Linked DNA regions of Homo sapiens: region 2 is linked to region 1. Evidence: promoter capture Hi-C in human tissues and cell types (Jung and others, 2019). All regions are on one chromosome and are shown on one strand. The core of a region is centred on a gene start or on the middle of the fragment in contact, and the rest is flanking DNA. Distances in the headings are between cores, read along the strand shown.

What was found. The method cuts DNA at HindIII sites, captures the fragments that hold promoters and counts their contacts. A contact is called where the count stands out against the background at its distance.
Region 2: a fragment that was not itself captured here is called in contact with the fragment with the promoter of IRS2 in region 1 in 1 of the 25 tissues and cell types used here (mesenchymal stem cells).

The regions. Positions count from the first base shown.
Region 1 is chr13:109,784,094-109,789,035 of GRCh38, forward strand. It overlaps IRS2 (insulin receptor substrate 2), which reads right to left and starts at 2,490. Exons shown (of 2, transcript NM_003749.3): 1 at 1-2,490. The coding sequence starts at 1,960. It overlaps LOC124903211 (WAS/WASL-interacting protein family member 1-like), which reads left to right and starts at 2,991. Exons shown (of 2, transcript XM_047430835.1): 1 at 2,991-3,352; 2 at 3,507-4,942. The coding sequence starts at 3,000. The coding sequence ends at 3,744. RefSeq lists an enhancer at 997-1,626 and silencers at 2,468-2,697, 2,718-2,887. The HindIII fragment of the contact is 26,611 bases long and covers 1-4,942 here.
Region 2 is chr13:109,263,329-109,268,270 of GRCh38, forward strand. It overlaps LINC03061 (long intergenic non-protein coding RNA 3061), which reads left to right and starts at 2,159. Exons shown (of 2, transcript NR_185883.1): 1 at 2,159-2,339; 2 at 4,283-4,942. RefSeq lists an enhancer at 3,943-4,901. The HindIII fragment of the contact is 6,977 bases long and covers 1-4,942 here.

The sequences.
Region 1 (4,942 bases), core at 1,240-3,739:
TGTAGCCGTCGTCTGCCCCCAGGTTGCTGCTGGAGCTCCTGTGGGAGCCGATCTCGATGTCTCCGTAGTCCTCTGGGTAGGGGTGGTAGGCCACCTTGGGAGAGGACGCGGGGCAGGACGGGCAGAGGCGGCCCGCGCTGCCCGAGAAGGTGGCCCGCATCAGGGTGTATTCATCCAGCGAGGCAGAGGAGGGCTGGGGCACCGGCCGCTGCCGGGCTGGCGTGGTCAGGGAGTAGGTCCTCTTGCGCAGCCCTCGGTCCAGGTCCTGGGCCGCGTCCCCCGAGACCCGGCGGTAGGAGCGGCCACAGTGGCTCAGGGGCCTGTCCATGGTCATGTACCCGTAGAACTCACCGCCGCCGCCGCCGTCTCGGGCCGGGGGCGTCTCCGCGATGGACTCGGGCGTGTTGCTTCGGTGGCTGCAGAAGGCGCGCAGGTCGCCTGGGCTGGAGCCGTACTCGTCCAGGGACATGAAGCCGGGGTCGCTGGGGGAGCCCGAGGCGGAGGCGCTGCCGCTGGAGGGCCGCTGGCCGGGGCCGTGGTGCAGCGGATGCGGCAGAGGCGGGTGCGGGCCGGGCGGCGGCGGGTAGGAGCCCGAGCCGTGGCCGCTGCTGGACGACAGGGAGCCGGGGCTGGTGGCGGCGGGCGGCGAGTGCGCCACGGGCATGGACATGGAGCGGCTGTGTTGCAGCGCGCCCCCTGCCGGCAGCAGCGCCACCTTGCTCCCGCGGCCGCCGCAGCCGCCGCTCAGGGTGTGCGAGCGGCTCAGGGGCGCGCGCACCGGCCCGGGGCTCAGGGGGCTCCCAGCCACCGACACCGGCCTGGCGCCCGCGGCCGCCGCTCCCGCCGCCGCGCCGCCGTCGCCCTCGCTGGCGGTGCGCACCCGGCACGAGCTGCACTTGGCCGCCGGCGGGGTGGCGGCCAGGCTGTCGGTGCGCGAGCGGCGCACCAGGCCCGTCTGGCTGGGGGGCAGGTTGACCAGGTGGTGGTGGCGGCGCGCGCCGGGGACGCTGATGGGGTGCGTGGCCGACGACCCCGACGATTGGCTCTTACTGCGCGGCCGGAACTCGAAGAGCTCCTTGAGCGCCTTCATGGCCTCCAGGATGGTCTCGTGGATGTTCTGCGCCACCACCGAGTCGTCCGCCTGCATCCACAGCTCGCCGGGGCCTGTGACGGCCGAGCGGCCCACCTCGATGAAGAAGAAGCTGTCCGAGTGGCCGCAGCGGCGGATGTTCATGAGCTGCAGCGTCACCGACGGCTGCTCGCAGTTGAGCTTCACGAAGCCGATGGTGCGCGCAGACAGGCACAGACGGTACACCCCCGTCAGGTTCTTGCTCTGGCCCAGACCCTTGGGCTTCAGGTTCACCTGCCACACCTCACGGTAGGCGGCCGTGGCGGGAGCCACCAGCCCGTAGCTGTCCTCGGCCCCGGCGGCGCCGGCAGAGCCGCCCAGGGCGCCGGGCAGGGAGGCGCTGCAGGACGCGGCGGGCGCGGCGGCGGGGGGCGCGTCTCCGGCGGCCGCGCGGCCCTCGCTGACCAGGTCGGTGAGCGCGCGGTACCAGCCCTCCTGCTCCTGCTCGTTCTCGGCGGCCACGGCGAAGTACTCGTCCTTGGTGTAGAGGGCGATCAGGTACTTGTGCTTGGCGTCGGCGCGCTTGTTGATGTTCAGGCAGCAGTCGAGAGCGATCACCCGTTTCGGCGCGCCTGCCTTGCTCCGCCACTTTTTCTCGCTCTCGTAGTACTCGAGCCGCGGCGGTTGCGGCGCCGACCCCCCGCCCGCCGTCGCCTCGTCGCCGCCCGCGCCGGGTCCGCGCAGCACGAAGAAGCGCTTGTGGCCATGCTTCTGCTTGCGCAGGTAGCCGCACTTGCGCACGCTGTGGTTGTTGTTGTTGTTGTTGTTGTTGAGGTTGGGGCCGTCTCCGCTCGCCGGCCCGGGCGGCCCGTGCCGCGGCGGGCTCGCCATCGCGGGCGCTTCAGGCCGCGCGGCCCGGGCCCGGCGCCCAGGGGTTGGGGCGAGGGGCGGAGGGGGCGCGGGCGGGGGCGGCTCCCTCCCACCCTTGCGCCCGGCCGCCCGCCCGATCACGCGTCCCTCGGGCCCAGGCGGTGGGGAAGGTCCGGGGAGGCCCGCGGGGGCCAGCACCGCTCGGCGGCGCCGCGCCCTCCGCGCTCTGGGGCTCCTGAGGATGCCCGGCGCGGGCGGTGGCCGCCCCCCTCCCCGGCTGCCTGCGGCCGCTGCCTCCTCGGGCTCTCGGGCGGCGCCGGGGGACGCGCTCGCTGGGCCGGGAGTCGGGGTCCCCGAGCCGCGGGGCCGAGCCTAAGGCGCGCGCGGCCGCACCGGGGCTGCTGCCGCCGCGTCGCGCTCCGGGAAGCCGGGGTGCGCCCGGGCGCTCGGGGTCCGCGCCGCCGCCGGGGCTGCTGCTGCTGCTGGTGTTGCTGCTGCTGCTGCCAACGGCGACCCGGGCTCGTCGCGGTCCCCGCCGCACAGTGAGTAACACATCGCGCACCGAGTGACTGAACTAAGAAGAGCAAAACAACATGTGACTCGGCGTTACGCAGGCACACACAGCGCGGCCGCCCCGCCCCGCTGCCTCGCATTGGCGCCGCGCCCCCCGACGGACGGCGCGCTCGGCCAATCGGCGCGGCGCTCGCGGGGGCGGGCCGCGCGCCCCCGCCCCGCCCCCCTTTCTCCCCGGGCCGCGTTTCCCGCCGTCCCCTCCCCCTCCCGCGAAGGCCCCGGCCCGGCCGGGCGGGGTGGGGCGGCCCCGGCCTCATTAATCAGCGGCTTGTTGTGGATGCCGGCGGAGGAGATGCCACCCAGGGCGGGAAAAGGGGCGCGGAAGAGGGGCGGGGCGGGCCACGGCGCGCAGGGCCCTTCCCTCCCGCCTCGGACTCAATTAATTGGGCTTGAGCTTCCGCCGGGGAGGGGGCGCCGGGCGGGGCCGCGGCTGGGCGGGGCGGGGGATCGGGATCGGCGGCGGGGGCTGCGGCCTTGCAGTGGAAGCATGGGCGGCGAGCCGGGCCGTGCTCTCGGGGCGCGGGGTCCCCATTTTGGGCGAGGGCGGCCGCTCCCGCGCTCGGGGTGGGCGCGCCCCATCCCCGTCCCCCGTTTCCCGTCCCCGTCTCCCGGCCGCATCTCCGTCCCCCCGCAGCCGCGAAACGCGGGGAGGTTCCAGGGCCCGCGGCCGCGGGTTCGCGAGCACCGCGCTCCAGATCGAGAGCGGCGCGCGCCCTTCCGTGGAGGACAGAGGGGCGCGGAGGGGGCGCCTGTGTCCCACCCGCTCGCGGGCGCTTTACGGGGCGTCCTCTGCGCCATTCACTTGTCAGCTTGTCGGGAAGTTGAAATCGCGTTTGGGAGGTAATAGGAGAAAGAGATCGGGGACGGCAGGCGGAGAAAGTGCGGTTTCCATAGCGCCGGGGAGAGGGCGGACCCGCGAGCCAGCGGTCCCTGAGCCGGGAGACCGCGCGGGCGTCTCTCCAGCCCCCGCAGGAGCGCCGCCTTCCTTCCGCAGGGGCGTCCTCTCCCCCCACCGCTGCAGGAGCACCCCCTTCCTTCCTCGGAAGCGTCCTCTCACCACACCGCTTCAAGAGCCCCCCCTTCCTTCCACAGGGGCGTCCTTTCCCCCTCCGAGGCAGGAGCGCCCCTTTTCCCCCCACAGGAGCGCCCTCCCCACCCCAGGAGCGCCCTGCGCCCAGCAGACGGGCAGGTGGGCGGGCGTCCACTACCTGTGTGCGCGGTGCGGGCGGTGACTGCCAAGTTGGAGATGCCCTTGGAGAACTGCTTCGAATTCATGTATCTACTGGGCTTTTGTGACTTTCAAAGCCTATAGCAAATAAGCACCCCTGCAATTACGTCTCCTCAATGACCAAGTCAGGGTGAGGTGAGGGCTTCCTGAGTTCAGATCCCAGCAAGCTCCCGATCCTGCGCAACGAAGAAAACTCAACAAAACAGGCTTTGGCTGTTTATTTTATTTTTTTTTTAATTGTGCCTTCATGAAATAATTTACAGCAATAATTTATCTTATAATATTGGTTATTGTTTTTAAGTCCCGGATGTTTACTTTTGGATGTCCTCTATAATTCATAGAAGTATCTTAAAAGTAATAAAATCTTAATCTAAGAGAAAATAAGTGTAATTTTTGAAAGAGTGATATATATTTTAATATGTTTTTGTAACATGTGACTTGAAGATTGTGTTGGCTAATTTTATGTGCCAAGAGAGCCCTGACTAGTACAAAGATTATAGCGTTTTTATTTTTAGCATGTATACAGTTAGGATTATTGATCAGTAGCCTGAATTTGGGAAGAATAATCATTGTGGCAAATATCACCCAGTGTGCCTCAAAAAGGTGTGTTTAAAGTTGATCTTCCATTTTTAAATCATACCTTAAAAAAAAATACCTCAAGAAATGCCATTTTAAGTCTGTGCACCTATGTGTGCATGTGTGCGTGTTTGTTTATATAATAGATTGTGTGATTGTGTGTGTATAGGTATGTGTGTATGATTGTGTGTGTTGGGGGCGCCACCTTTATGAACATTATGCTTCGGCGTTCTTTTTAGATCTTGTTACCTTTTCTTACGTTCACAAATGTTGCCTAGCAATATGTCTAGTCAGGAAAGATGAAGGGATTCTTATCTTGGTGCTTGAAGAAAATGTGGTGTAGTTTTATTGGCTTTGTGATCACTTACATCCCACTTTTATGAGGATGTAAATGGGCCACCTCTATGTTCCTGTATGTTGCCAGCCATCAGTAGACAATGCTAAAGGAACCACCACTTTTAAACATCATGTGATGGTTTCTTCTGAGAAAGTATATTTTGCAATCTTTTTCTTTTTCATGTTGACTTTTATTATGCAGTTGCATTTTCATATCCGTATTGAACATTTACTTGCTGTGCCTGTCACACGCTAGCAGGTGTCATCTTTTCCTGTTTGCTTGTTTCTTG
Region 2 (4,942 bases), core at 1,654-4,153, 520 kb before region 1:
TTCAACTTTAAAAAAAAATAGTATTAAGTAATAATTTTTTTTTTTTTTTTGAGACAGAGTCTTGCACTGTCGCCCAGACTGTCATGCAGTGGCAAGATCTCAGCTCACTGCAACCTCTGCCTTCCTGGTCCAAGCGATTCTCTTGCCTCAGCCTCCCTAGTAACGGGAATTACAGGCACCCACCACCACACCTGGCTAATTTTTTGTATTTTTAGTAGAGTGGGGTATCATTATGTTGGCCAGGCTGGTCTCAAATGCCTGACCTCATGATCCACCTGCCTTGGCCTCCCAAAGTGCTGGGATTACAGGCATGAGCCACTGTGCCCTGCCTAAGGAATAATTTTTAATTTTTAAGTATGATAATCATATGGAAATTAACCTTTTGAAAGAGGTCTAAACTTTCAGAGATGTATATTGAAATATTTATGGAGGAAATGATATGATGTCTGGGATTTGCTTCAAAATATTTGGTGAGGGACAGGGTGCAAGATAGGATTATAGAGGACGCAAGACTTGAACTTTCACCCTATTTGGTTGTACTTTCTGAAGTTCTATGGACTAGATAGTCACACAGGGGTTAAGCTGTGTGTTGTGGCTCATGCCTGTAATCCCAGATAAAGGAACAGAAAGGCCTATATGGAAACATTTGAACACCTAGTCAGGCTAATAATTTAGTTCCTCAGAATAAATATATTTGTGAAATGTATATTAAGAGAAGCTAAGCACTGAACAGGGAAGAACAGAATGGAGGAATTAAAAGACCACCGAGTCAGTGCTTTGATCACCTTATTGTCCTAAACCCTTGATATCCCCACACTCATATGCCCACTCAGCTGAATAAAGCCCATGAAGTTACCAGAATATTTAACTATTATATATTATTTCCCAAGCGTTCCCCTTGAAGGAATCACTCCCAGAACCAACCAAGGGGCTTATCAAGATATAATTCCCAATCATGTACACTAAGTCATCTTTCAAAGATAACTTGTGGAGAATACAATTTCTTCATCTAATCCAGGGGGCTTTGGCATTTCTCACCAACTCCCCTCACTGGCAACTGCCTCCCTTCACATGGCTTCAGAGAATTTTCCTGCTAACAGAGATTGCTCAGGAAATAGCTATAAACACCTATTATCTCCCTTCCCAGAGCTTTCTTTAACAATAAGACCCTTCCCTTGGCCATCATTTCCATCATTATTTTGACTTCTCCCTTGTCCCTTAAGTCCAATTAGCTGATTGGAAACCTTCCCACATAATCTGCCATTCTTGCTTCCTTTCCATTCCCAATGCCACTGGATTTGGCTGGACCCCATAGTGAGCGAGGAAGTAAAAAGAGAATAGCTAGGCAGATAGCTAGGTCAAAATTCCTCAGTAGAACTTCCTTTCTCACAAAAAGCAGCCCAAGAAAACACGTGTCTCCTAACAAAGAGCAGCCTGGAAGATTGTGCTGCAAACATAGATAAGGAAGCTGGAAGCTTGCAGCTGGGAGCTGCCGCACTAGAAAGGGGTACCTGGGGCCAGTCATGTGCACCATGAGGGCTCCGCCTCCCACTTTTTTTTTTCTTTTTCTTTTTTTTGCACCTGCACAGTAGGAAAGCAACATGGAGTAGCTCAGGCAAAGGACCCGCCTCCATAATAAAAGGCTGGGATGGGGGCTGCCAGAGATTCGCACTCTATGCTGATGGTACACCTGGTCTTAACTGTTTTTTCACACCCTATGTAGGTAAAATACTGCCTCCCCACTAGGTCACTTATAAAAACTGTCAGGCCTCTGAGCCCAAGCCAAGCCATCGCATCCCCTGTGACTTGCACGTATACGCCCAGATGGCCTGAAGTAACTGAAGAATCACAAAAGAACTGAAAAGGCCCTGCCCCGCCTTAACTGATGACATTCCACCATGGTGATTTGTTCTTGCCCCACCTTAACTGAGTGATTAACCCTGTGAATTTCCTTCTCCTGGCTCAGCAGCTCCCCCACTGAGCACCTTGTGACCCCCGCCCCTGCCCACCAGAGAACAACCCCCTTTGACTGTAATTTTCCATTACCTTCCCAAATCCTATAAAACGGCCCCACCCCATCTCCCTTCGCTGACTCTCTTTTCGGACTCAGCCCGCCTGCCCCCAGGTGAAATAAACAGCCATGTTGCTCACACAAAGCCTGTTTGGTGTCTCTTCACATGGACTCGAGTGAACTTTGATGCCGTGGCTCGGATCGGGGGACCTCCCTTAGGAGATCAATCCCCCGTCCTCCTGCTCTTTGCTCCATGAGAAAGATCCACCTACGACCTTAGGTCCTCAGACCAACCAGCCCAAGAAACATCTCACCAATTTTAAATCCAGTAAGCCGCCTCTTTTTACTCTCTTCTCCAACCTCCCTCACTATCCCTCAACCTCTTTCTCCTTTCAATCTTGGCGCCACACTTCAATCTCTCCCTTCTCTTAGTTTCAATTCCTTTCATTTTCTGGTAGAGACAAAGGAGACACGTTTTATCTGTGGACCCAAAACTCCAGCGCTGGTCACGGACTGGGAAGGCAGCCTTCCCTTGCTGTTTAATCATTGCAGGGACACCTCTCTGATTATTCACCCACGTTTCAAGGGTGTCAGACCATGCAGGGATGCCTGCCTTGGTCCTTCACCCTTAGCGGCAAGTCCCGCTTTTCTGGGGAAGGGGAAAGTACCCCAACCCCTTCTCTCTGTGTCTCTACCCGTTCTCTGCTTTTCTGGGGAAGGGGCAAGTACCCCAACCCCTTCTCTCTGTGTCTCTACCCCTTCCCTGCTTTTCTGGGGAAGGGGCAAGTACCCCAACCCCTTCTCTTCTTGTCTCTACCCCTTCTCTGATTTTCTGGGGCAGGGGCAAGAACCCCTCAACCCCTTCTCCTTCACCCTTAGTGGCAAGTCCCACTTTTCTGGGGGAGGGGAAAGTACCCCTCAACCCCTTCTCCTTCACCCTTAGTGGCAAGTCCCGCTTTTCTAGGGGGCAAGAACCCCCAATCCCTTATTTCCACACCCCGACCTCTTATTTCTGTGACCCAATCCCTTATTTCCACACCCCAACCTCTTATCTCTGTGCCCCAATCCCTTATTTCCATGCCCCAACCCCCCTTCCCACTTTTCTAGGGGGCAAGAACCCCCAATCCCTTATTTCCACACCCTGACCTCTTATCTCTGTGCCCCAATCCCTTATTTCTGTGCCCCAACCCTTTCTCTGCTTTTCTGGAGGGCAAGAAACCCCCACCCCTTCTCCGTGTCTCTACTCTTTTCTCTGGGCTTGCCTCCTTCACTATGGGCAAGCTTCCACCTTCCATTCCTCCTTCTTCTCCCTTAGCCTGTATTCTTAAGAACTTAAAACCTCTTCAACTCTCACCTGACCTAAAATCTAAGTGTCTCATTTTCTTCTGCAATGCCTCTTGACCCCAATACAAACTCTACAGTAGTTCCAAATAGCCGGAAAACGGCACTTTCAATTTTTCCATCCTACAAGATCTAAATAATTCTTGTCATAAAATGGGCAAATGGTCTGAGGTGCCTGACATCCAGGCATTCTTTTACACATCAGTCCCTTCCTAGTCTCTGTGCCCAGTGCAACTCATTCTGAATCTTCCTTCTTTCCCTCCCGCCTGTCCCCTCAGTCCCAACCCCAAGCGTCACTGAGTCTTTCTAATCTTCCTTTTCTACAGACCCATCTGACCTCTCCCCTCCTTGCCAGGCCAAGCTAGGTCCCAATTCTTCCTCAGCCTCCGCTCCTCCACCCTGTAATCTTTTTATCGCCTCCCCTCCTCACACCTGGTCTGGCTTACAGTTTCGTTCTGTGACTAGCCCTCCCCCACCTGCCCAGCAATTTACTCTTAAAAAGGTGGCTGGAGCCAAAGGCATAGTCAAGGTTAATGCTCCTTTTTCTTTATCCCAAATCAGAAGCGTTTAGGCTCTTTTTCATCAAATATAAAAACCCAGCCCAGTTCATGTCTCGTTCGGCAGCAACCCTGAGATGCTTTACAGCCCTAGACCCTAAAAGGTCAAAAGGCCATCTTATTCTCAATACACATTTTATTACCCAATCTGCTCCCGACATTAAATAAAACTCCAAAAATTAGAATCTGGCCCTCAAACCCCACAACAGGACTTAATTAACCTCACCTTCAAGGTGTACAATAATAAAAAAAAGGAAGTTGCAATTCCTTGCCTCCACTGTGAGACAAACCCCAGCCACATCTCCAGCACACAACAACTTCCAAATGCCTGAACCGCAGTGGCCAGACATTCCTCCAGAACCTCCTCCCCCAGGAGCTTGCTGCAAGTGCCAGAAATCTGACCACCAGGGCAAGGAATGCCTGCAGCCCAGGGATTCCTCCTAAGCCATGTCCCATCTGTGCGGGACCCCACTGGAAATCGGACTGTTCAACTCACCTGGCAGCCACTCCCAGCGCCCCTGGAACTCTGGCCCAAGGCTCTCTGACTGACTCCTTCTTGGCTTAGTGGCTGAAGACTGACGCTGCCTGATCGCCTCAGAAGCCCTGTAGACCACCATGGACACCGAGCTTTAGGTAACTCTCACAGTGGAGGGTAAGTCTGTCCCCTTCTTAATCAATATGGAGGCTACCCACTCCACATTACCTTCTTTTCAAGGGCCTGTTTCCCTTGCCTCCATAACTGTTGTGGGTATTGACAGCCAGGCTTCTAAACCTCTTAAAACTCCCCAACTCTGGTGCCAACTTGAACAACACTCTTTTATGCACTCTTTTTTAGTTATCTCCACCTGCCCAGTTCCCTTATCAGGCCGAGATATTTTAACCAAATTATCTGCTTCCCTGACTATTCCTGGACTACAGCTGCATCTCATTGCTGCCCTTCTTCCCAATCCAAAGCCTCCTTTGCGTCCTCCTCTTGTATTCCCCCACCTTAACCCACAAGTATAAGATACCTCTACTCCCTCCTTGGCGACCG